7 separate regions of the Homo sapiens genome follow, and regions 1, 2, 4, 5, 6 and 7 are each linked to region 3. Evidence: promoter capture Hi-C in 16 types of primary human blood cells and fetal thymus (Javierre and others, 2016). All regions are on one chromosome and are shown on one strand. Each heading gives the region's core, a stretch centred on a gene start or on the middle of the fragment in contact. The rest is flanking DNA. Distances are from core to core; before and after follow the strand shown. Region 1 holds the start of ZNF8 (zinc finger protein 8). Region 2 overlaps ZNF8 (zinc finger protein 8). Region 3 holds the start of ZNF749 (zinc finger protein 749). Region 4 holds the start of ZSCAN22 (zinc finger and SCAN domain containing 22). Region 5 holds the start of ZNF835 (zinc finger protein 835). Region 6 holds the start of ZNF544 (zinc finger protein 544). Region 7 holds the start of ZNF497 (zinc finger protein 497).

Region 1 (2,700 bases), core at 39-2,538, 840 kb after region 3:
CTCCTGCCTCAGCCTCCCGAGAAGCTGGGACTACAGGTGCCCGCCACCACGCCGGGCTAATTTTTGTATTTTTAGTAGAGACGGGGTTTCACCATATTGGCCAGGTTGGTCTCGAGCTCCTGACATCGTGATCCACCCGCCTCGACTTCCCAAAGTGCTGGGATTATAGGCGTTAGCCACCGCGCCCGACCTTTAATAAACATTTTAATGGACTACAACAGACCCACAGAAAAAGACACATCACAAAGTGAACACCCACAGGGAGAAGCAATAGGGCTGTCAGAGGCATTCGACCCAGAGCGACTCCATTTTGAGTGAGGGCTAGGAAAATGAGGCTGGGCTGCATTCCCAGAAAAGTAGGTATTCCTAACCTCTAGATGTTTACGGTTAAGGGAACAAATTAATAATGGGTACTAAAACAGACCCAGACTTGGGAGTGTCCAGATATCCCGGTATCTAGAGAACAAAGGCATTCCTAATTTTGCTTTAAAAATAATATCGATTCTTGAAAAATACAGTAAGAAAATTAATCCTTTTTCACAAACCCTTGTAGCAGAGCACATCTCCCCAAAATCTATTTTTAGCCCAAATATACACAAGCATTGTACCTAGGGTGCATACGTTCCTCTTACTTTCAGGAACGTCCTACTGTCTATGGGGTAGCTGTTTCACAACTTTACTTTCTCAACAAACTTGCTTTTACTTTGCACTGCGGACTCGCCCTGAATTTTTTCTTGCGCGAGATCCAAGAACCCTCCCTTGGGGTCTGAATCGGACCCCTTTCCTGTAACACAACCACCGCTCCCAGCCTCCCCGCTTCCAGCCGCTAAGCCCAAAGTCTTTTATATGAACAAACCTCTAACTCGTCCTGTGACTTTGATGCGTGTGCGTTTTAGGCACCGGGGAGCAGAGGGTAAAGCGGCGCAGCTCCGGGCCTCCTCCCGCGCAAGTTCCCGAGAAGAGCAGGTCCGGCCCGCGCAGACGTGCACGGTCCCCAGCCATTAGGAGGAGCAGACGGTCCCCACCCCCACAATCAGTCATCTCTCGGGGTCCGCCCTTGCTTCCTGCCCACGAGTGAGGCCTCTGGTTGCCCGCAACCTAAGGGGCATCGCAGCCCCGAGCAACACCGCCCCCACCAGCCTTAGCTGAGTGCTCCCATTGGCCAGAGGCCAGCGGGTGGGGGCTCCCATTGGCCATCGGCCATAATGCTTCCATTGGTCGAAGGCCAGACCAGCGGAGACTCCCATTGGCCGAGGGCTGTGGTTCGCCGCACGGCCTACTGGGAGTTGTAGTCGCCGCGTCGCCGGTGCGGCCGCCATTGTCCGGCGTTCGGCGAGTCGGGTGGTCCCTTTGGCTGGAGTGCCTCTCTGGTCTGGGGATCACCTCAGGCGCTGTCCTTCACTGGGCGATCCAGCATGGACCCCGAGGACGAAGGGGTAGCGGGAGTGATGTCTGTGGGGCCGCCGGCGGCCCGGCTTCAGGTAACAATAACAACAATAACGACGGCGGCGGGCTCCGGGCAAGCGTCTCCCGCGCAGACTGACCCTTTCACCTCGCGGCGCGATGAGAGCGGCACCGCTGTTAATGCCCTTGACACGTGGGGAAACTCAGACGCGGGTCGGGGCGTGGTGACCGTCCTGGCTGGTCAGAGAGGGGGCCGGGATTCCAACCAGGCGCCTGGCCCCCGAATGCGCATGCTCCACGCGGCTCTGTCCTCCCCAGGGCTGGGGTCGGTCATTCCCGAGAGAATCGAGCAGGCCCATCTCCTGCGTTCTGCTCCGCCCCGCCGACACCCTTGCCCATTCCAGGAAGGTCTGTCCTCGTGTTGACTGATAACAGTAATTGTAGCGTTGGCCGGGTGCCCAGATGGCAAGAATCATCGAATAGAGATGCTTTAACGCGTGGAGTCAGCGGACACCCACCGGGACCCCAGCACCGCGGAGCCCCTGCCCTGGGGCTTGGGCACAACCTCTTGGGGGCAATGATGGGTCACCACGCACTGAGTGTGATGAGAGTGACCACCAGGGTCGTCCCCTGCGAGACTGTGGGAGAACTGCAGTGCAGGGCGGTCAGTGTTTGCAGGGCCATCTGGCCATCAGAGCTCCACTTTCTAGACAAAGTGGTTGCGGCCTGTGTTCTCCATAAAGCTGCCTCGCGTGGCAGGAAACAACAATAATTATCCTTCCTCAAGCTCTGCAACTTTGAAATTATACTTTTTTTTATTTTTTGTCGTTGGTTTGTTCATGGGGATTTGCATTATTTCAGATTTGGTACACAAAGTGAGACTTGATAATCTTAGGTTGCAGGTTTTCAGATGTGTGTTGCTCCAAATTTGCATGAAATGCTACCACGTTTTATTTTGTTCTTGCTGTGGATGGGGGACAAGGAATGAGTCGTAAGAAAGGCTTGAGAGAAAGTGTATTAGTTACCTGTTGCTGTGTAACTCAAAACTTCGTGACCTGGAACAACAATAAATATCTCACGAGTTCTGACAGGAGTAATGGAATGTCCTAGCTGGTGGTTCTGGTTCAGGCCCATGAAGTTACAGTGAAGATGTCAGCATAGCTGTTGTCACCTGAGACCTGAGTCTGGAGGATCCACCTCCAGGATGGCTCACTCACATGTCTGTTGATAGGAGACCTCAGTTGTTCTCCATGTAGGCCTCTCTTTGGAACTGCTAGGGATCCTTGCAACATGGCA
Region 2 (2,714 bases), core at 21-2,520, 870 kb after region 3:
GGTGGAGACAGGTGGGAGAGAAAAGTCCTGGGAAGTGGATGATGGAGGCAGCTAGCCGTAGCTGCTGCTTTTCTCTTCAAGCTCTTGGGAGAATTGCTTGTGCTCCCTATTCCCTTGGTGGATGATGGAGGCAGCTAGCCGTATCTGCTGCTTTTCTCCTTCAAGCTCTTGGGAGAATCGCTTGTGCTCCCTATTCCCTTGGTGGCAGCTCACACCTCAGACCTGCTGTCCGCCCCCACTGCTTCACAGAACCCACTGCAACCACTGTCCAAGGTACTACCTCTGGTGTCGTCTCTCTTCATCCCCAGGACTGTGAAGCCTGCTAACCTCTTTGCAGAGCTCCATCTCCTTGCATTGTGGGGTTCCTTCTAACTCTTCAGGGACTTCTCAACCTCCCGTCACCCTTCCTAAATGCTGGGGTCCTAGAGTCCACCTTGTGCTCCACGCCCTCCCCAGGTGTCATCTACATCCCTAGCTTTGTGCTGCTCACCACCAAATCAGTCTGGTGCTTCTGAGATTTGGGCTTCAGACCCAAACAACTGCTGTGTGCTACTGGGCAACTCCCCGAGGTGTGCCGAAAGCTCCCCAAACCCAGCCTACCCCAAACAAAACTCATTTTCCACCCAGACTAGTCTCTGCTTCCCTGATCCCTTTCCTGGAGGCTGTTTCCACTTGCCATCCCATCATGGAAGCCAGAAAACCAGTCTTCTTGACCTCTCCCCTTCCCCACTCCATGGAGTTAGAGGTCCTGTTGATTTTGCCATGTAAACATTTCGGATTTGCTTACTTCATCCCCACTGCCACCAACAGTGCAGGATGGCCCTAAGAGGAGAAGTAATGTGCTACCAAGTGGCCCAGCCAGAGTGTGAACCAAACAGTCTGGTACCAAAACCCTATTCTGGATCATTCCTCCTTTCTGCTCCACCAGCAGTTTGGGGCACAGGCTTGGGAATCCAGACAGGAAAGCTCCTCCCCTCTGAAGCAGTGGGACCAAAAATGACAGCATGGTTCTAGACAGCTCTGGAAGTCAGGCCTGTGATTGCCTCATTCCCTCCACCTTGGCCCCCAAAATGGCCAGTCCTGAAGGGGTCACAGTTGATACTTCTCTGAGGGGGCATGGGGTTGGCTGAGGTTATAGCAGCCCCACAGGGTGGTAAGCTGGGATGAAGCAATCAACTGGAACTCAACAAGCCTTGAGTTCTCAAAGGGGGTGTGGGAAGGTTCTTATACATCTTCTATGAAGGGCAGTTTATCAGTCACTAAATTACAAATACATAAACCCTTTGTCTCACCAAACCTGCTGGGAATGAATCCTACATATATATTTATATGTGTGCAGGCTACATGGTTTTCATTATGCTATTGATTTTAAAAGTAAAAATTTGGAAAGAACCTCCATGTCCACCATGGGGAACTGGCTAAGTCATTTATGGTGGAATGGTGATCATAAAAATTCATTAAAAATGAAGACTCTATATACAGCTTGAATATTCCTTATCGAAATGCTTGGGACCAGAAGTGTTTCAGATCTTTGCATATTTTCTGTTTCTCATTTCAGTTCACATTTTCTAAGCATGATATTCCTACTGATTTCCTTGTAGATATTTTGAAACAGATAAGAAACTCCTCCGTGGAAATTACTGTTAACTAGGGAAAAGACATGTTTTTTTCTGTTCATAAAAGTAATGCGAGTTCTTTGTAGCAAAACTTGGAAAATGCATAAAAGTAAAAAAAAAATGAAAACTTGTGTAAAATTCCTCATACTTTAGCCATCCATAGATGGTCCTTACCATTAGGATTTTACTAATTTTCCTTGCAGCTTTTTCTTAAAATATACACGTGTGTCTACACATACATAGTGTACACTAAATTTTACATACACACAGAGGAATATATATGTGTATAGTTATCTTGTGTTTAGAAATTTGGAATCCCTTCTAGTTGTCTTGTAACATGTGCTTACTCTATTTTGAGGATTTTCTCTATGAATTTCATGTAGCTCTTTAAATTAACTTTCAGGAGGATTGTAACAATGTGCTCTCCACCCAGTATTTTACCAGCCTTGAGTTTTCTCAAAGGGGGCATTGGAGGGGTTCTTATACATTTACAGTGGGAATGTGAATTGATACAACTTCTGTGGAGGGCAGTTTATCAGCCACTATCTAAATTACACATACATAAACCCTTTGTCTAAGCAAACTTGCTGGGAATAAATCCTACACATATATTTGTATGTGTGCAGACTGTTTGTACATGGTTTTCATTATGCTATTGATTTTAAAAGTCAGAATTTGGAAACAACCCTCCATGTCCACCATGGGGAACTGGCTAAGTCATTTATGGTGGAATGGAGATCATAGCCTTAAAAATGAAGACTCTTTATATACAGGTTGAGTATCCCTTATCCAAAATGCTCAGGACCAGAAGTGTTTCAGATTTCAGATTTTTGAATTAGGGATCCTCAAACTATACTAATGTGAGAAAGAGCTCTAAGATAGTTAAGTAGATAAAAGCAAGGTGTCAAACTGTAGAGTATGTTTCCATTTATGTAAAGAAGAAACAGGCTAGGCAAGGTGACTCACGCCTGTAATCCCAGCACTTTGGGAGGCCGAGGCGGGTGGATCACCTGAGGTCCGGAGTTCAAGACCAGCCTGACCAACACGGTGAAACCCCATCTCTACTAAAAATACAAAAGCTGGGTGTGGTGGTGCACA
Region 3 (2,700 bases), core at 176-2,675:
TAAATGCCGACTTTTTGTAGTGCATTGTAAAAAGCTGAATAAAGCCAGGGACGGTGTCCTGTACCTACAGTCCCAGCTGCTCTAGAGGCTGAGGTGGGAAGATAGCTTTAGCTCAGGAGCTGAGGCCTTATCATAAGGCCTTATAAGACTACCTGGAGGCTTCATCTGCATGATATAACCTTGGTCTTCACAACCCCTTGTCTTTTTTTGTTTTTGAGACGGAGTTTCGCTCTTGTTGCACGGGCTGGAGTACAATGGCGAGATCTCGGCTCACCGTAACCTCCGCCTCCCGGGTTCAAGCGATTCTCCTGCCTCAGCCTCCCGAGTAGCTGGCATTACAGGCATGTGCCACCATGCCCGTCTAATTTTGTATTTTTAGTAGAGATGGGGTTTCTACATGTTGGTCAGGCTGGTCTCGAACTCCCAACCTCAGGTGATCCGCCCACCTCGGCCTCCCAAAGTGCTGGGATTACAGGCGTGAGATACCACGCCCGGCCCACAACCCCTTAACCCAGACAACCATTTCTACTGATTCCAGGTCTTTAGATACAAACTCTTTCAACCAATTGCCAATCGGAAAATCTTTGAACCCACCTGACCTGGAAGCCCCGCCCCTCCCTTCCAGTTGCGCCTTTCCAGAGGAATCCAATGTACATTTTACATGTATTGATTGATGTCTTACGTCTTCCTAAATTGTTAAAACCAAGCTGTAGATGGGCCACCCTGGGCATATGTTCTTAGGATATCTTGGAGCCGTGTCATGGGCCATTAGTCACTCATATTTGTCTCAGAATAAATCTCTTCAACTATTTCACAAAGTTCCACCCTTTTCGTCGACAGAAAGATATTCCTCCTTCAACTCTCCATCACATCCTGTGTGGGTCTTTTCTTTCTTGTCCCAACAGAAGCACACTAACGATCAAAAAAAAGTCTCCAGAGCCTCAGTATGTGTGTACTTGACAAGCACAAAAGAGCTGACCGCTATGAATGGAGGACCAGTTCATTATGGTCAGCCATGTCGCTTCTGATGTTCTTCCTTTCGGGACTTGCTGTGCTTCAGAGAATCTGAAACGACAGGTCTCTGAAATATTTCTCAGACTTGTCCTAGACTGCTCTCCGGGAAAATCTGGTTACTTGCAGTTTAGGAGTCAGCAAAGCCCCTCCACGTCCTTAAGAGCCCCGGAACTGCATTTCTTAACGCTCCTCCAGGAGCCTCCAGCTTTTTTCCGTAAGGTCCGCGCGCCCAGCATTGTGAGGCGAGGCAGGCAGCAGCGTGGGAACTACATTACCCAGAAGACACTGCGGGCGACACAGGCAGCAACGTGAGAACTACATTACCCAGAAGACACTGCGGGGGCAGGGCAGCGAGTGTAGCCATTGGTCTAGCAGAGAGACGACTAATGAGGTCTCAATTGTGTGGGCGGGACTTCTGGCGGCGCCCTCATGGTTGCGTTAGCATGGCTACCTAGGGATCTGTTCACTGATTTAGAGGGTCCCAGAGCTCTGGGTCGGGACTGAGGTGAAAGAGCGGAAAAACGCGAGAAGCGGTGTTCCTTCTACACAGAGGCTAGAGTGCGGATCGGCTGAGTCGGCTGCAGGCGCCCCTGCCTCCGTCAGCGTCCAGGTGACCGCCGTTCCCGCCCCGCTCTTCCCTGGGTGGACTGGAGGAGGCCGCGCCGATGAACCTGACCGAGGTGCGTGCAGCGTCCCAGGCCGCCCCGCCCAACCCCTCCTCCCAGTGCTGAAGTCCCAAGGAGCCGCCCTGCAGGTTAGGCCCTTGTGTCTCTAAGAGAGGGGCGTTCTTGTGTGGGGTGCCCGGGACTGGGACTGCGGTGCGATGAGGCGGGGGAGCTCCCGTCGGAGACCGACACGTCTCTGGGGCTTGGAGGCACTGCAGAACGGGCGGCACTGGGGAGCCCGAGCGTCTTTGTCTCCAAGGAGCAGAGGTTGAGGCGGAGTCTCCCCTGGAAGGGCAGTGGAGCCGCAGAGAGCCATAGAGGGCTGTGCAGGGAGGACGAATGGGAGGGTCACGCCCAGAGTTAGAAGTTTAAAGTTGGGGAAAACAGGATGTTGAACGGGGGCAGGGGGACCGCTGAGGAGACCCCTTGAGTTATGGTAGGGCTGGGCCAGAGGGGTTGCAGTAGAGGGGAGATGTGATGAGACTCTGGATGGATCTCAGAGATAGGGTCAACAGGATTTCCTGCTGCATCAAACATAGCTGTGAGGGAAAGTCGGTAGTGAATGGTGTCTTCCATAGGTTTTGTTTTGGCCTGAAAAATCTGAAAGAATGGAATTAGAGATATCAGCTTAAGGAGCGGGTTTCAGACAGAAGATCCTGGGTTGGATTTTGGGCGACATCACATGGGTAGGTGGACGTAATTTCCAAAGGTGAGGGAAGGTAGCTGGCCTGGAGCTTTAAATGAGTTAGAAGTTGTGCACTTGAGAAGTTGGCCTGTGGATCAGATTGAGAAGGAAGAATCCTACATCGTTTTTTCATATGGGCTGAGGTAGGGGAGGGCTCAGATTTGGAGGAAAGACCATGGTAGGGAGGGCATCTCTGATACTCCCTGCAGAAGGGAGCAGATATGGGCTAAGAGTCTGGTCTGTTTCTGTTGAAAAAGAGGCCTGGATGGATAAGGAGTTGCCCTGGAATACAGAGACTGAGGCATGAGATAATTGTAGTCACTCCACCCTTCTAAC
Region 4 (2,719 bases), core at 68-2,567, 890 kb after region 3:
CGTAACAACATCACACACAGTCTAGGGCCTTTATACTGTGTCAGGTCCACCCCATTACCTCTAAGTATCTGTCTCAGACACAATTACACCTGGTGCAGGCAAACACAGCTGCATGATTATCACATATGATGATTAAATCACAGGTCACACACACGCAGAGTAAGCACACAGAACAACCCACAAACCTGGTCACAGAGTGACTCATGCAGACAGACGCCCAGCTCAAATTCAGTAAAAAATGATACACATTTATAAAAATGATTACATGTGTTCACAGAGAGCCACACATAGCTACACTCAATACACACCCTGACATAGGCAACCACACCGCTCACCTCTCACAAAGGCACCTTCAGTACTTACACAGACACTCACACCCACAAGCCCTCAGACAGGCACCCTCTCCCCTCACTCCTAACATGGGCACCCTCACCTCTCACCCAGGTACCCTTGTTACTGGTGGAGGGTGTCCAGGTTCTTGGCATCTTGAACAAATAATTGGACAAAATGCACAAAGAAAAGAATGAAGCAACAAAAGCAGAGATGTATTGAAAATGAAAGTACACTCCACTGTATGGGAGCAGGCCGGAGCATAGGGGCTCAAGAGCCCGGTTACAGAATTTTCTGGGGTTTAAATACCCTCTAGAGGTTTCCATTGGTTACTTGGTATATGCCCTATGTAAATGAAGAGGACGAAGTAAAGTTACAAAGTGATTTACTCCATGTACGCCCTGCATAAATGGAGAGGATATTTCCTACCATAGCTGCAGTTTCCATTTGATTTACTTCTAGGAAGTCCTTAGGTTCCCTGCCTCCAGACCCGATTTTCTTGCCTCACCCTTACCCCTCACCCCTCACACAAACACCCTCAGCCCTCCCAAAGCCACCCTCAGCCTCACACAGCCGCCCTCACCCTCAGCCTCACACAGGCACCCTCAGCTCTCACACAGGCACCCTCAGCCCTCACACAGCCGCCCTCACCCTCAGCCTCACACAGGCACCCTCAGCCTCACACAGGCACCCTCAGCTCTCACACAGGCACCCTCAGCCCTCAGCCCTCACACAGCCGCCCTCACCCTCACCCTCACACAGGCACCCTCAGCCTCACACAGGCACTCTCACCCTCAGCCTTCACATTTCCCTCACCTCCAAGTCCCGCCTTTCGCGCATCGCCTGCTGCTCTCCCACTCAGCGCCACCTCAGTCCCACAAAGGCCGGGCTGGGATCCTGTGGCCTCCGTGCTGACCAACGTCAACTACAATTCCCAGCAGGCACCGCGCCTGGGTACACTTGAGCTTCCGGAGGACGCCGGGAATTGTAGTCCTGGCGGGCGTGGGCCCTTGAGGTGTGCTGGGAGCTGTGGTCCGGGTCGGCGGGCGCGCAAGTTGGCTAGTCTCTGCGGCCACCTCCGGAAGGGTCCGCCGGCTGTGCTGGTGAGGTGGGTTTCGGGGGTGTTCTCCGTCCTGATCCAGGCTGGAGAGGGGCACAGCAGGTCCAGAAGCCGCGAACCTCTGGGGCGGCCAGAGCGAGATGCGGGGTACCGCCCAGCGGGTAGAGAGTGAGAGGCTGACTAGGGGACGTGAGTAGACGGACTGCGAGTGCCGGACACACGCGCAGAGGATGTGACGGACTGACGGACCAGGCGTGGACGGACCGTGTGTGCACGGACTGACGGACCCGGTGTGGACAGACTCACGGACCGAATGTGGTGCGGAATGACACACTGAGTGCCGGACGGACCGACGGAGAATGTGTCGGACTGACGGAGTGTGTGTCGGATGGACTGATTGACCGGGTGTGGGGCGGACGAAGTGTGGAGCGGGCGGACAGATAACAGATAAAATGTAGGACCAGTGGCCTGGGAGGGTGTGGGGCGGACCCGTTTATGTGTCTGATAGGCGGTTCTGTGTCTGACACCTCTTGGGTGTGTGTATCTGACGGGTTGGAGTGTGTGATTCTGATAGGTTGAGTGTAACACTAACCATGGAGTGTGTGACTGACAGAGATGGTTGCCGTTTGAGACTTCCTACGTGGGTTGTGAGATACTGTGAGAGGGTGAGCGTGTGACGGTGGGATTTCAAGTGTGACTGATTTTCTTTGTGTGTCCTTGAGATGGTGACTAAGATTATGAATGACTGTGATCAGAATAATACTGTGTGATGGAAATGCTGCGAGGGCCTGTGTTTATTTTTGAGACGGAGTCTTGCTCTGTTGCCCAGGCTGGAGTGCAGTGGCGCAATCTCGGCTCACTGCAACCTCCATCTCCCGGGTTCAAGCGATTATCCTGCGTCAGCCTCCCGAGTAGCTGGGATTACAGGCACCGGCCACCACACTTGGCTAATTTTTGTATTTTTGGTAGAGACGGGCTTTCACCATGTTGGTTAGGCTGGCCCGGAACTCCTGACCTCAGGTGATCCACCTGCCTAGGCCTCCCAAAGTGCTGGGATTATAGGCATGAGCCACCATGCCTGGCCAGGCCTGTGTTTATTTGACTGATTATAGGTGACATTGAGATATTTCCTGTGTCTGGGTATTTTGAAGGCTGTGGCTGACAGACTGTACCTGAGATAATATGTGTTAATATCTGATTGACTGAGATTTTTATCAGGGAGACTAAAACTTGGGTGATCCACAAACAGTTTACCAAGCATATGAGAGAGGATTTGTGCTTTGCCATGTCTGCAGCTGAAACTGAGTGACTAGTGGTCATTCAGCTGGG
Region 5 (2,751 bases), core at 185-2,684, 760 kb before region 3:
GGAAGACACATGCATTACATCACACTCTGACACACACAGGGTCATACACAATCATACCTGCCCAGACACACACAGACATGCAGAGACACCCAAACCCATATCCAGGGACACACAGTCGCCCTCCTAACCCCCATGCAAGGAGGCAGGTGGGAAGCCATCACCTGCAGCCACACTCACACATGCACACAGGGTCCCGGGCACACGTAGCTACACACACACCCAGCCCCACACGTAGCTCCCTGTGTGAAGAGGTGCACAGAGACGCACAAGGTCACACATGCCACCTGCTCCACACAGGCCGGCCATTACTGGGACACACCCACAGGGGATGGCTGGACACATGTGCAGTCACACTCGGTGGATAGAGCTCCAGCATAGCCAAAGCCCACATGTGCAGCGTCTCCATCATGTGCAGATGCACACACTTCAGACAGCACGGCACTCTACAGGCTCGCACAGCCAGGTCACCCATCATTGTGCTGGCAGGCACACGGGCCGAGCCAGCCTACACGGCGGCACACCCAGACATGCACACGTGGGGTCACACACCTCACATCCAGGAGAACTTTCAGACTTGCCCAAAGGCAGCCACACGTGTATGTGACATGCTGTGATATGCAGACACCGCTTCACATGAACGAGCACATAACACACCGATAAAGTGTTACATGCCTTTACCTGCAGTCACCTGCCTGGGCTGGCACCACTGAGTGAGCAGGTGCAGACACAGTGACACTCGGGGACGGGCTCACAGGCAGTCACACACCTGCAAGGCCTGGCACCGCCGAGTGAGCAGGTACAGACACAGTGATGGGCTGGCACCGCCAAGTGAGCAGGGGCAGACGCTGTGACACTCAGGGACGGGCTCACAGGCAGTCACACACCTGCACCTGCTGGTACCGTCGAGTGAGCAGGTGCAGACGCTGTGACACTCAGGGACAGGCTCACAGCCAGTCACACACCTGCACGGCCTGGCACCGCCAAGTGAGCAGGTACAGACACAGTGACGGGCTGGCACCGCCGAGTAAGCAGGTGCAGATGCAGTGACAGGCTCACAGGCAGTCACACACCTGCACCTGCTGGTACCGTCGAGTGACCAGGTGCAGACGCTGTGTTACTCAGGGACGGGCTCACAGGCAGTCACACACCTATACGGGCTGACACCGCTAAGTGAACAGGTGCAGACACAATGGCACTCGGGGACGGGCTCACACGCGGTCACACACCTGCAGGAACACGCGCACACTACACACCGTTGCTCTCGCCTCCCGGTATCACCTTCGAACGCGCTGGCCGGCCCCCTCCTAGCCTGGTGCAGTCGGCTCCGCTTCTACTCAGTCTCGGGTCCTCCTGGGCCAACGCAGACCCTGGTGCCTCCTTCCTTAGACGAGCTAAGGTCAAGACTTCTGCTGCTGCGGAGGAGCCCGCGCACCAGGCCGGGGTGGACTGCGCCTGCGCATCGGGCCCGCCTGGTTCTTAGGAACTACGACTCCCAGGGGGCGCTGCGCGCTCGCCGGCACCGCGACTAAAGCTTGCAAAGCCTGGGTCATCGAAACTACAACTCCCAGAAGGCTAAGCGTCTGCACACGCTAGGTCCGCAGGGCGCTGACCCCTGGGGGCCCGAGGAGCGCCGGGCTGCTGCCCCGAGCCCCGCCCACTACAGCCTCAGTGCATGGCGGTGGGCGCTTCCAGTAACTCAGGGGTGGGACTTTTTTCTTGCTCAGGGGATGAGGCCGAGCCCACAGGCTTAGAAAGAAGGAACTTGAGTCCGGGCACCTGTCATCCCAGCGCTTAGGGAGGCCGAGGCGGGTGGATCACCTGAGGTCAGGAGTTCGAGACCAGCCTGGCCAATATGGCGAAACCCCCGTCTCTACTAAAAATACAAAAATTAGCCGAGCATGGTGGCATGCACTTCCAGCTACTTGGAAGGCTGAGGCGGGAGAATGGCTTGAACCTGGGAGGCGAGGGTTGCAGTGAGCTGAGATCGCACCACTGCACTCCAGCCTGGGTGACAGAGCGAGACTTCGTCTCAAAAAAAAAGAAGAAGAAAGAAGGAAGCTGAGGTTCAGACAGGCTAAGTCCCTACTGCAGGCTGCGGAATCTAAAAAGGTAGGTGCCAGGGTTTGCAACCCACACTTTTATTTTGGTCTCAGGTAGCTGATGTCATTCCAGTCTATGGCAAAGAAGGTGGCAAATCCATTAACATAGATGAAGAATTTCATTTTACTTTTTAGTTTTATTTATTTATTTATTTTTATTATGTATCATGCTTTTAATACAAACTTTAAAAAATCTGGAACAATAGAAACTGTACAGATTTGATCAATCTTTTTGTTTTGTTTTTAAACTAAAATCTCTAAACACACCAATGTCCTATTCCAAAATATTGCACAACATTCTGAATACAAAACCCTTGATTGTATTCCTCCTTCACTGAAGAAAAAACTTCATGACCCTGCTCCCCGGGCTCCTCTCCAGGCTTGCGTCAATGCCCCCTTCCCATCCCTAGGGAGAAAACTAGAGAATCTATAACTCACTGCATTGAGAAAAAGACATCATTCTGGACTAACAGTTTCCATTCTTCAGAAGATAATCCACCTTTTGATTTGTTCCTGGGAAACAGGGATAGATAGAGGATGGGGAAAGGGGAGAAAAGGTTTTATTTCTCCTCTTTTTTTTTTAAAGTTTGTTTTTCCTGAAAAAATATGTTTCTCTCATCTTTTTAAGAAAAAATCTTGAAAAGAAAAAAAT
Region 6 (2,827 bases), core at 279-2,778, 790 kb after region 3:
ACTTTTAAGACTGAGGGAACCGGCCGGGAGCGGTGGCTCATGCCTGTAATGCCAGCACTTTGGGAGGCCGAGGCGGGTGGATCATGAGGTCAGGAGATCGAGACCATCCTGGCTAACAGGGAGAAACACCGTCTCTACTAAAAAAGAAAAATTACAAAAAATTAGCCGGGCGTGGTGGCGGGCGCCTGTAGTCCCAGCTACTCGGGAGGCTGAGGCAGGAGAAAGGCGTGAACCCGGAAGGCGGAGAGTGCCGTGGGCCTAGATCGTACCACTGCACTCCAGCCTGGTGGACAGAGCGAGACTCCGTCTCACAAAAAAAAAAAAAAAAAAAAAAAAAAAAAAAGACTGAGGGAACCTTCCCAGGAAACCCCTAGCAGCCTTATTTCTCCTTGGCCAGAATATCCTTGCCTAATTCACACAGCAAGAAGCTTGAGTCCATTCTGATTAGCTTAGAATCCATCAAGATCCTCCCTTAGGGAGTTAGATTCTAGATTTCCCGGAAGAATCTAAAAATTGCAGGGTCGTGCTAGCCAGGTATGAAAATAAGCAAGTAAAAAGATGATGACTGTTGGGTAAAGCTATCGACAAGGTCAGCTACAAAACAGTCAAGCCAAGGAAGGCTAGTCACAGATGCACCCCAGACACAAAAGCACAGTCCAGGAGCTGAGGGTGCCTGAGCCACAGTGGTTCCCGCCTACCTGGCCTTCGTAGGAAAGTTTCCTGTGGTCTCCCTCATTGAAGAGCCAGGACGGGTCAGGCGGTGGTGGGTCTCAGACATTGAGCCCCACAACGCACTGAGACTGAACATCAGACCATTTATAATAACAGAACTCTGTCCCACAACTTCTGCAGCAATAGGTACAAAACAGAACTTGGTCACTGCCAGCCTCCCTATTTTTTTCCCTGTCCCACTTAGGAGCTACCACAGAAAGCCAAATAGGCTCGACTGAGCGATCACCTAGGACGAATCGCCTCCAGTTAGCGTGCTTCCACCTTCCACTCGGAATGCTCCAAGCAGGGCACTCCCGGGGCTTTGTTTCTATCACTAGGACGCGTCCCCACGCCCAGGCTGTCCCTGAGTCCCTGCCACAGGCGCAGATGTTGGCGGGCGCCCTTGCCCCTGAGCTCCCGGTTAACGGCCTTGGACTGTTCTCATGGCTCAGTCTTGGTCTCTCTCCCCAGCAGGGCAAGGCGCCGGGAAGGCACCCGAGATGACAGCGCCGAGCCCCATAGGCGCTAGTCCCGCCCTGGACGCCGACCGCCGCCTCCACAGTCTCGGCTTCGGTTGCTGGATGAGAACCAGCGTGGCCCGTTTAAGGGGGAGGGGACAGGCGCTGCAAGGAGCAGAGCCGCGGGAAGCAACTCCCTAAGCCACAATGCTAGTCGCGAACACAGGAAAAAGCTCATCCCGCCGCCGCGGGGCCCCATGCTCCCGCCGGCAATGACTATGCCTGTGGGAGCAACGGCTACCGGCGCGCGGCCTTCTGGGAGTTGTTTGTTGCGCGGAGCGCGGGCACGTCCGCCGGCCACCGGAAGCACCGCCATTGGCCGGTGCGTGCAGGTGAGTCTGGCGGCCTCAAGGTTGGCTCGGAGGTTTCACTGTTAGCCGGGTGCGGCCGGAGCGCAGGACCAGGCCAGAGCCGCCCCAAGTGATCTGGGCGTGCCGGAGAAACGAGCAGGGCCTGCGGGGGTCCCTCATGCGGCGAGGCCGAGCAAGGGCAGGGGCCTGATGGGATCGGGATCTCTCCGGCCTCAGGGACGGGGAAGGCCGGTCCAGTCAGGTTTCCCCTGCAGGAGCGCCCGGCTGGGTCTGAGCTTGTCGGGAGGCTCTCCTGCTGCAGAGCTGGGAGGGAACTTATAGTACCTCGCAGGTACGGGCAGGGGTGGAACTGGGTGGGACTGGGTGGGACTGGGTGGGACTGGGTGGGACTGGGTGGGCCCTCCCGACAGAGGGTGCCTGGGTCGAGGGCTGCAGGGGCGGGGGATTCAGGCTGGCGTCTGGAGCTCTGGGGCTGCCGACCCAGCGGGCCTCTCCCGGCTCCTTTTTCCTCCCTCAACTCATCTTCTGCGGCTTATCCACAGGTGGCAGCCAAGAGCCTCCTGGCACAGCGGCACCAGGCAGGTGACGCCTATTGGACCCCAGAGGTCATCCCAGCTCCAGACGTGGACACATTTTCTTCCAATGGTACGTGAAGCTTGAACCTTGCAGAGAACATGTGTATTTTCCAAGTGAACAGAAGATTAAGGCCAGTCCACGCAGGGCAGGGGTAACTGGGGTGTTGGGGGCCTGCACTGGTTAAGCGATGCTGGTGCACCCCATAGAGAGACTACAGAGGTGAACAGGATGGGATGTGTATGTAACGCCTGTAAGTTAGGGATCGGGGTTCCATTTGTGTTGGGTGATATTTGATGGGGACCGTACAAGGCAGTGCTAATGAGGAAGGCATGGGGTTGGATTTCAAGAGTCTAAGGGAGTAGGGAAACATCTGATTGTGGAAATGACTCCGTGTAAGGAGGGATGCCAAAAGACAGGAAGGAGTGGAGGAAGACTGTGTTTCTGTTTCCAGCGTGGAGCCAGGGTAGAAGTCACAGTGCAAGGAAGATGTGGTATGCCTGGTCAGTCTCTGCATGGGAGTTGAGGAGCATGTGGGTGACATGGCTGAATGTGGAGGAGGGAATGGCAGTGGCAGGAAGCCCAGGAGGTTTGGGCTGGACACGTAACCTGGAGCAGATTGGAAACGTCACCCCACAAGCAGGGAAGGAGAAAACTGGAAAAGGAAAGAGAAAGCAACTCCCTCCCCAGCCCTGCAGCCAGAGGGACTTCTGC
Region 7 (2,700 bases), core at 91-2,590, 930 kb after region 3:
CAGTGGCGTGATGTGGGCTCACCGCGACCTCCGCCTCCTGGGTACAAGCGATTCTCCTGCCTGAGACTCCCGAGTAGCTGGGATTACAGGCACCAGCCTCCACACCCGCCTAATTTTTGTGTTTTCAGTACAGATGGGGTTTCACCATGTTGCTCAGGCTGGTCTTTAACTCCTGAGCTCAAGGGATCCACCCGCCTTGGCCTCCCAAAGTGCTGGGATTACAGACATGAGCCACCGCACCTGGCCTCTAGTTTTTCAAGATGCCACCTTTAGGGGAATTGGGTAAAGCGTACATAGGGTATGCATTACTTGTTACTGCATGTGAATTTATAATTACCTCAAATCAAAAGTTAAATTTTAAAAAAACGACATCTGATTTCAATAAAAATCCATATTTGTGTATTGAAGTATCAGAAATCCGGGTCCCCCAAGGGCCCATGTTTCTTAAGGCGGAGCCAGGCACCGCTGCCCCTCCATCCTGTGGTGTGCGACCCCGACCCGCCAGCCCCCAGCCGCATCTATCAGGGCTGCCGTCCTGAGTCCGTCCTCGTCGTGGGATAGCATGTGAGCCCCGTAAGGTCCTTCCTGTCGGCCTCACTGCTCCAGCCTCCCCGACGTCCTCACGTCCACGCTGCGTGCCCTTTCTGAGCCTCAACGCCTCCTCCTCACCTCGACATGATCAGAGCCACCTCCCGCGTCAGTCCCAGCGCCCACGCCCCCAACAACGGGCACTTGTCCGACCAGTCACGGGTACTTGTGTCTCCCCCACAACCCCCAAGGCCTAGGCTGGACAAACAAATACGGAGTGGATAAAGGGGAGGAAGCTGCGGCCAGGTGGCGCGAGGCCTGTGCGGGCAGCTCCGGAGGCTGGGAGGCGAGCCCAGCCTGGTGAGCTCCGAAACTACCCGGGGCTGGGGACTGATGAACGAATAAATGAATGTGGGAAGAAATGATGGCGCGGCAGGGCATGAGTGAATGAGTGAAAGAATAAACGAGCAGGAGGAACGATGCCACAGAACTGATCGCCATAAGGCTCGCGTTCACCGAGAGAACAGCAAACGGGAGCCATTTCCGTCCCGACCACGGTCGCCTCTGGCCCGTGCAGGGCCACTTCCGGGCCGCTCTGGACGGCGCGGAGGCCTATCTCTCGGTGGTCCCAGAGGGCCCAGCTCAGGGCCGAGGCCCGTCCTGCCCCGCGCGGCGGGAGTGGTTGGAGCCGGAGGGCGGATCTGTGCCTGGCCGAGGGTGTCCGTCGGCGTCACTCACCGTCCTCGGCCCGCCTCTGCGTCCACTAGGAGCGGCCTGAAAGAGGCCCGCACGCGGGCTCGAGCCGCGTGGAATGGTAGGAGGGCGGGCACCGGGTCTCCTGGGGGCGCGGTTGCATTCGGCAGAGCGGCCCAAGGCGTCGCGTTTCTCCCCACTGCGCCTGCGTAACTATGCCGCGGCTGCGGGCGCGCGCCTTCTGGTTCCCATGGGGACGGCGCCACAGCCAAGCTACTCGGGCGTCCTGCGTTGCCATGGATGCGCTCCGCCCCTTCCTGCACCCGGCCAGCCTCTGCGGCACACACCCAACAGCTACACAGGCGCCTGGGGCTGCCCGGGTCGCGGACGCAAGTCGGGCCAACGTAGCTTCTCCCTGGCGGTCCTCCTCCGGCCCCAGGCCGTCTTTACCACCCTGGAACCTTGCTGAGTTGACGCCACTGAGCTGCGTCTCACACCCACGCGCTGTGGAACACCCACCAAGCTGGAATCCACGCGGTTTTTAAAATAGAGTCGGGGGCCGGGCGCGGTGACTCACGCCTGTAATCCCAGCACTTTGGGAGGTCGAGGCGGGCGGATCACGAGGTCAGGAGATCGAGACCATCCTGGCTAACACGGAGAAACCCCGTCTCTACTAAAAATACAAAAAATTAGCCGGGCGTGGTGGCGGGCGCCTGTAGTCCCAGCTACTCGGGAGGCTGAGGCAGGAGAATCGCTTGAACCTGGGAGGCGGAGCTTGCAGTGAGCCGAGATCGCGACACTGCACTCCAGCCTGGGGCGACAGAACGAGACTCCGTCTCAAAAAAAAAAAAAAAAAATTGAGTCGGGATCTCAGAAGCTAAGCAGGGTCGGGCCTGGTTAGTACTTGGGAGACCGTCTGGGAACACCGAGTGCTGTTGGCTAAAATAAATAAATAAACCGGGCGCGGTGGCTCACGCCTGTAATCCCAGAACTTTGGGAGGCCGAGGCGGGCAGATCACGAGGTCAGGAGTTCGAGACCAGCCTGACCAACATGGTGAAACCCCGTCTCTACTGAAAATACAAAAATTAGGCTTGTTGGCGTGTGCCTATAATCCCAGCTACTCGGGAGGCTGAGGCAGGAGAATCGCTTGAACCGGGGAGGCAGAAGTTACAGTGAGCTGAGGTCGTGCCACTGCACACTCCAGCCTGGGTGACAGAGCAAGACTCCGTCTCAAAAAACAACATAGACCAGATGCTGTAAGCTAAAATAAATGAATAGCTAGAGACGGGGTCTCGCTATATGGCCCAGGCTGGTCTTGAACTTCTGGGCTCAAGTGATCCTCCCACCTTGGCCTCCCAAAGTGCTAGGATTACAGACCCGAGCCACTGCACCCGGCCTCCACGAGCTCTTTTTGTACCAATTTTTCCCAATTTGTACTAGGGAGCTCTCACCTCAGCCCAGGTGGTTTGGGCAGGTGT

Evidence for each region. The method cuts DNA at HindIII sites, captures the fragments that hold promoters and counts their contacts. A CHiCAGO score of 5 or more calls a contact.
Region 1: the fragment with the promoter of ZNF8 here is called in contact with the fragment with the promoter of ZNF749 in region 3 in 3 of 17 cell types (neutrophils, non-activated CD4 T cells and total B cells); the score reaches 7.8 in neutrophils.
Region 2: a contact is called between a fragment that was not itself captured here and the fragment with the promoter of ZNF749 in region 3, in 1 of 17 cell types (non-activated CD4 T cells). The highest score is 5.1, in non-activated CD4 T cells.
Region 4: the fragment with the promoter of ZSCAN22 here is called in contact with the fragment with the promoter of ZNF749 in region 3 in 4 of 17 cell types (neutrophils, non-activated CD4 T cells, total CD8 T cells and 1 more); the score reaches 7.6 in neutrophils.
Region 5: the fragment with the promoter of ZNF835 here is called in contact with the fragment with the promoter of ZNF749 in region 3 in 2 of 17 cell types (naive CD4 T cells and total B cells); the score reaches 5.7 in naive CD4 T cells.
Region 6: the fragment with the promoter of ZNF544 here is called in contact with the fragment with the promoter of ZNF749 in region 3 in 6 of 17 cell types (total CD8 T cells, total CD4 T cells, naive CD8 T cells and 3 more); the score reaches 8.9 in total CD8 T cells.
Region 7: a contact is called between the fragment with the promoter of ZNF497 here and the fragment with the promoter of ZNF749 in region 3, in 6 of 17 cell types (non-activated CD4 T cells, neutrophils, naive CD8 T cells and 3 more). The highest score is 8.7, in non-activated CD4 T cells.

The regions. Positions count from the first base shown.
Region 1 is chr19:58,277,667-58,280,366 of GRCh38, forward strand. ZNF8 (zinc finger protein 8) reads left to right here and starts at 1,289. Exons shown (of 4, transcript NM_021089.3): 1 at 1,289-1,481. The coding sequence starts at 1,416. ZNF8-DT (ZNF8 divergent transcript) reads right to left here and starts at 1,076. Exons shown (of 3, transcript NR_187495.1): 1 at 857-1,076. It overlaps ZNF8-ERVK3-1 (ZNF8-ERVK3-1 readthrough (NMD candidate)), which reads left to right and starts at 1,300. Exons shown (of 7, transcript NR_144447.1): 1 at 1,300-2,700. RefSeq lists enhancers at 1,365-1,414, 1,835-1,884. The HindIII fragment of the contact is 22,069 bases long and covers 1-2,700 here.
Region 2 is chr19:58,300,565-58,303,278 of GRCh38, forward strand. ZNF8 (zinc finger protein 8) reads left to right here. Exons shown (of 4, transcript NM_021089.3): 4 at 1-2,227. All of the region lies in intron 4 of ZNF8-ERVK3-1 (ZNF8-ERVK3-1 readthrough (NMD candidate)), which reads left to right. Among named protein-coding and RNA genes, the nearest start is that of ERVK3-1, 3.5 kb to the right of the region's middle. The HindIII fragment of the contact is 9,060 bases long and covers 1-2,714 here.
Region 3 is chr19:57,433,900-57,436,599 of GRCh38, forward strand. ZNF749 (zinc finger protein 749) reads left to right here and starts at 1,426. Exons shown (of 3, transcript NM_001023561.4): 1 at 1,426-1,694. The coding sequence starts at 1,680. RefSeq lists enhancers at 1,011-1,310, 1,941-1,990. The HindIII fragment of the contact is 4,352 bases long and covers 1-2,700 here.
Region 4 is chr19:58,325,677-58,328,395 of GRCh38, forward strand. It overlaps ZSCAN22 (zinc finger and SCAN domain containing 22), which reads left to right and starts at 1,318. Exons shown (of 3, transcript NM_181846.3): 1 at 1,318-1,438. It overlaps LOC105372480 (a long non-coding RNA gene), which reads right to left and starts at 1,572. Exons shown (of 3, transcript NR_144444.1): 1 at 1,147-1,572. RefSeq lists enhancers at 1,203-1,945, 1,289-1,618. The HindIII fragment of the contact is 13,061 bases long and covers 1-2,719 here.
Region 5 is chr19:56,670,323-56,673,073 of GRCh38, forward strand. It overlaps ZNF835 (zinc finger protein 835), which reads right to left and starts at 1,435. Exons shown (of 2, transcript NM_001005850.3): 1 at 1,254-1,435. LOC105372473 (a long non-coding RNA gene) reads left to right here and starts at 1,657. Exons shown (of 4, transcript XR_936110.4): 1 at 1,657-2,109. The HindIII fragment of the contact is 4,177 bases long and covers 1-1,529 here.
Region 6 is chr19:58,227,386-58,230,212 of GRCh38, forward strand. It overlaps ZNF544 (zinc finger protein 544), which reads left to right and starts at 1,529. Exons shown (of 7, transcript NM_014480.4): 1 at 1,529-1,561; 2 at 2,083-2,185. RefSeq lists an enhancer at 1,405-2,231. The HindIII fragment of the contact is 1,767 bases long and covers 427-2,193 here.
Region 7 is chr19:58,361,411-58,364,110 of GRCh38, forward strand. ZNF497 (zinc finger protein 497) reads right to left here and starts at 1,341. Exons shown (of 3, transcript NM_198458.3): 1 at 1,267-1,341. It overlaps ZNF497-AS1 (ZNF497 antisense RNA 1), which reads left to right and starts at 1,216. Exons shown (of 3, transcript NR_136527.1): 1 at 1,216-1,342. It also overlaps the pseudogene RNA5SP473. RefSeq lists enhancers at 628-1,176, 906-1,035. The HindIII fragment of the contact is 6,825 bases long and covers 1-2,700 here.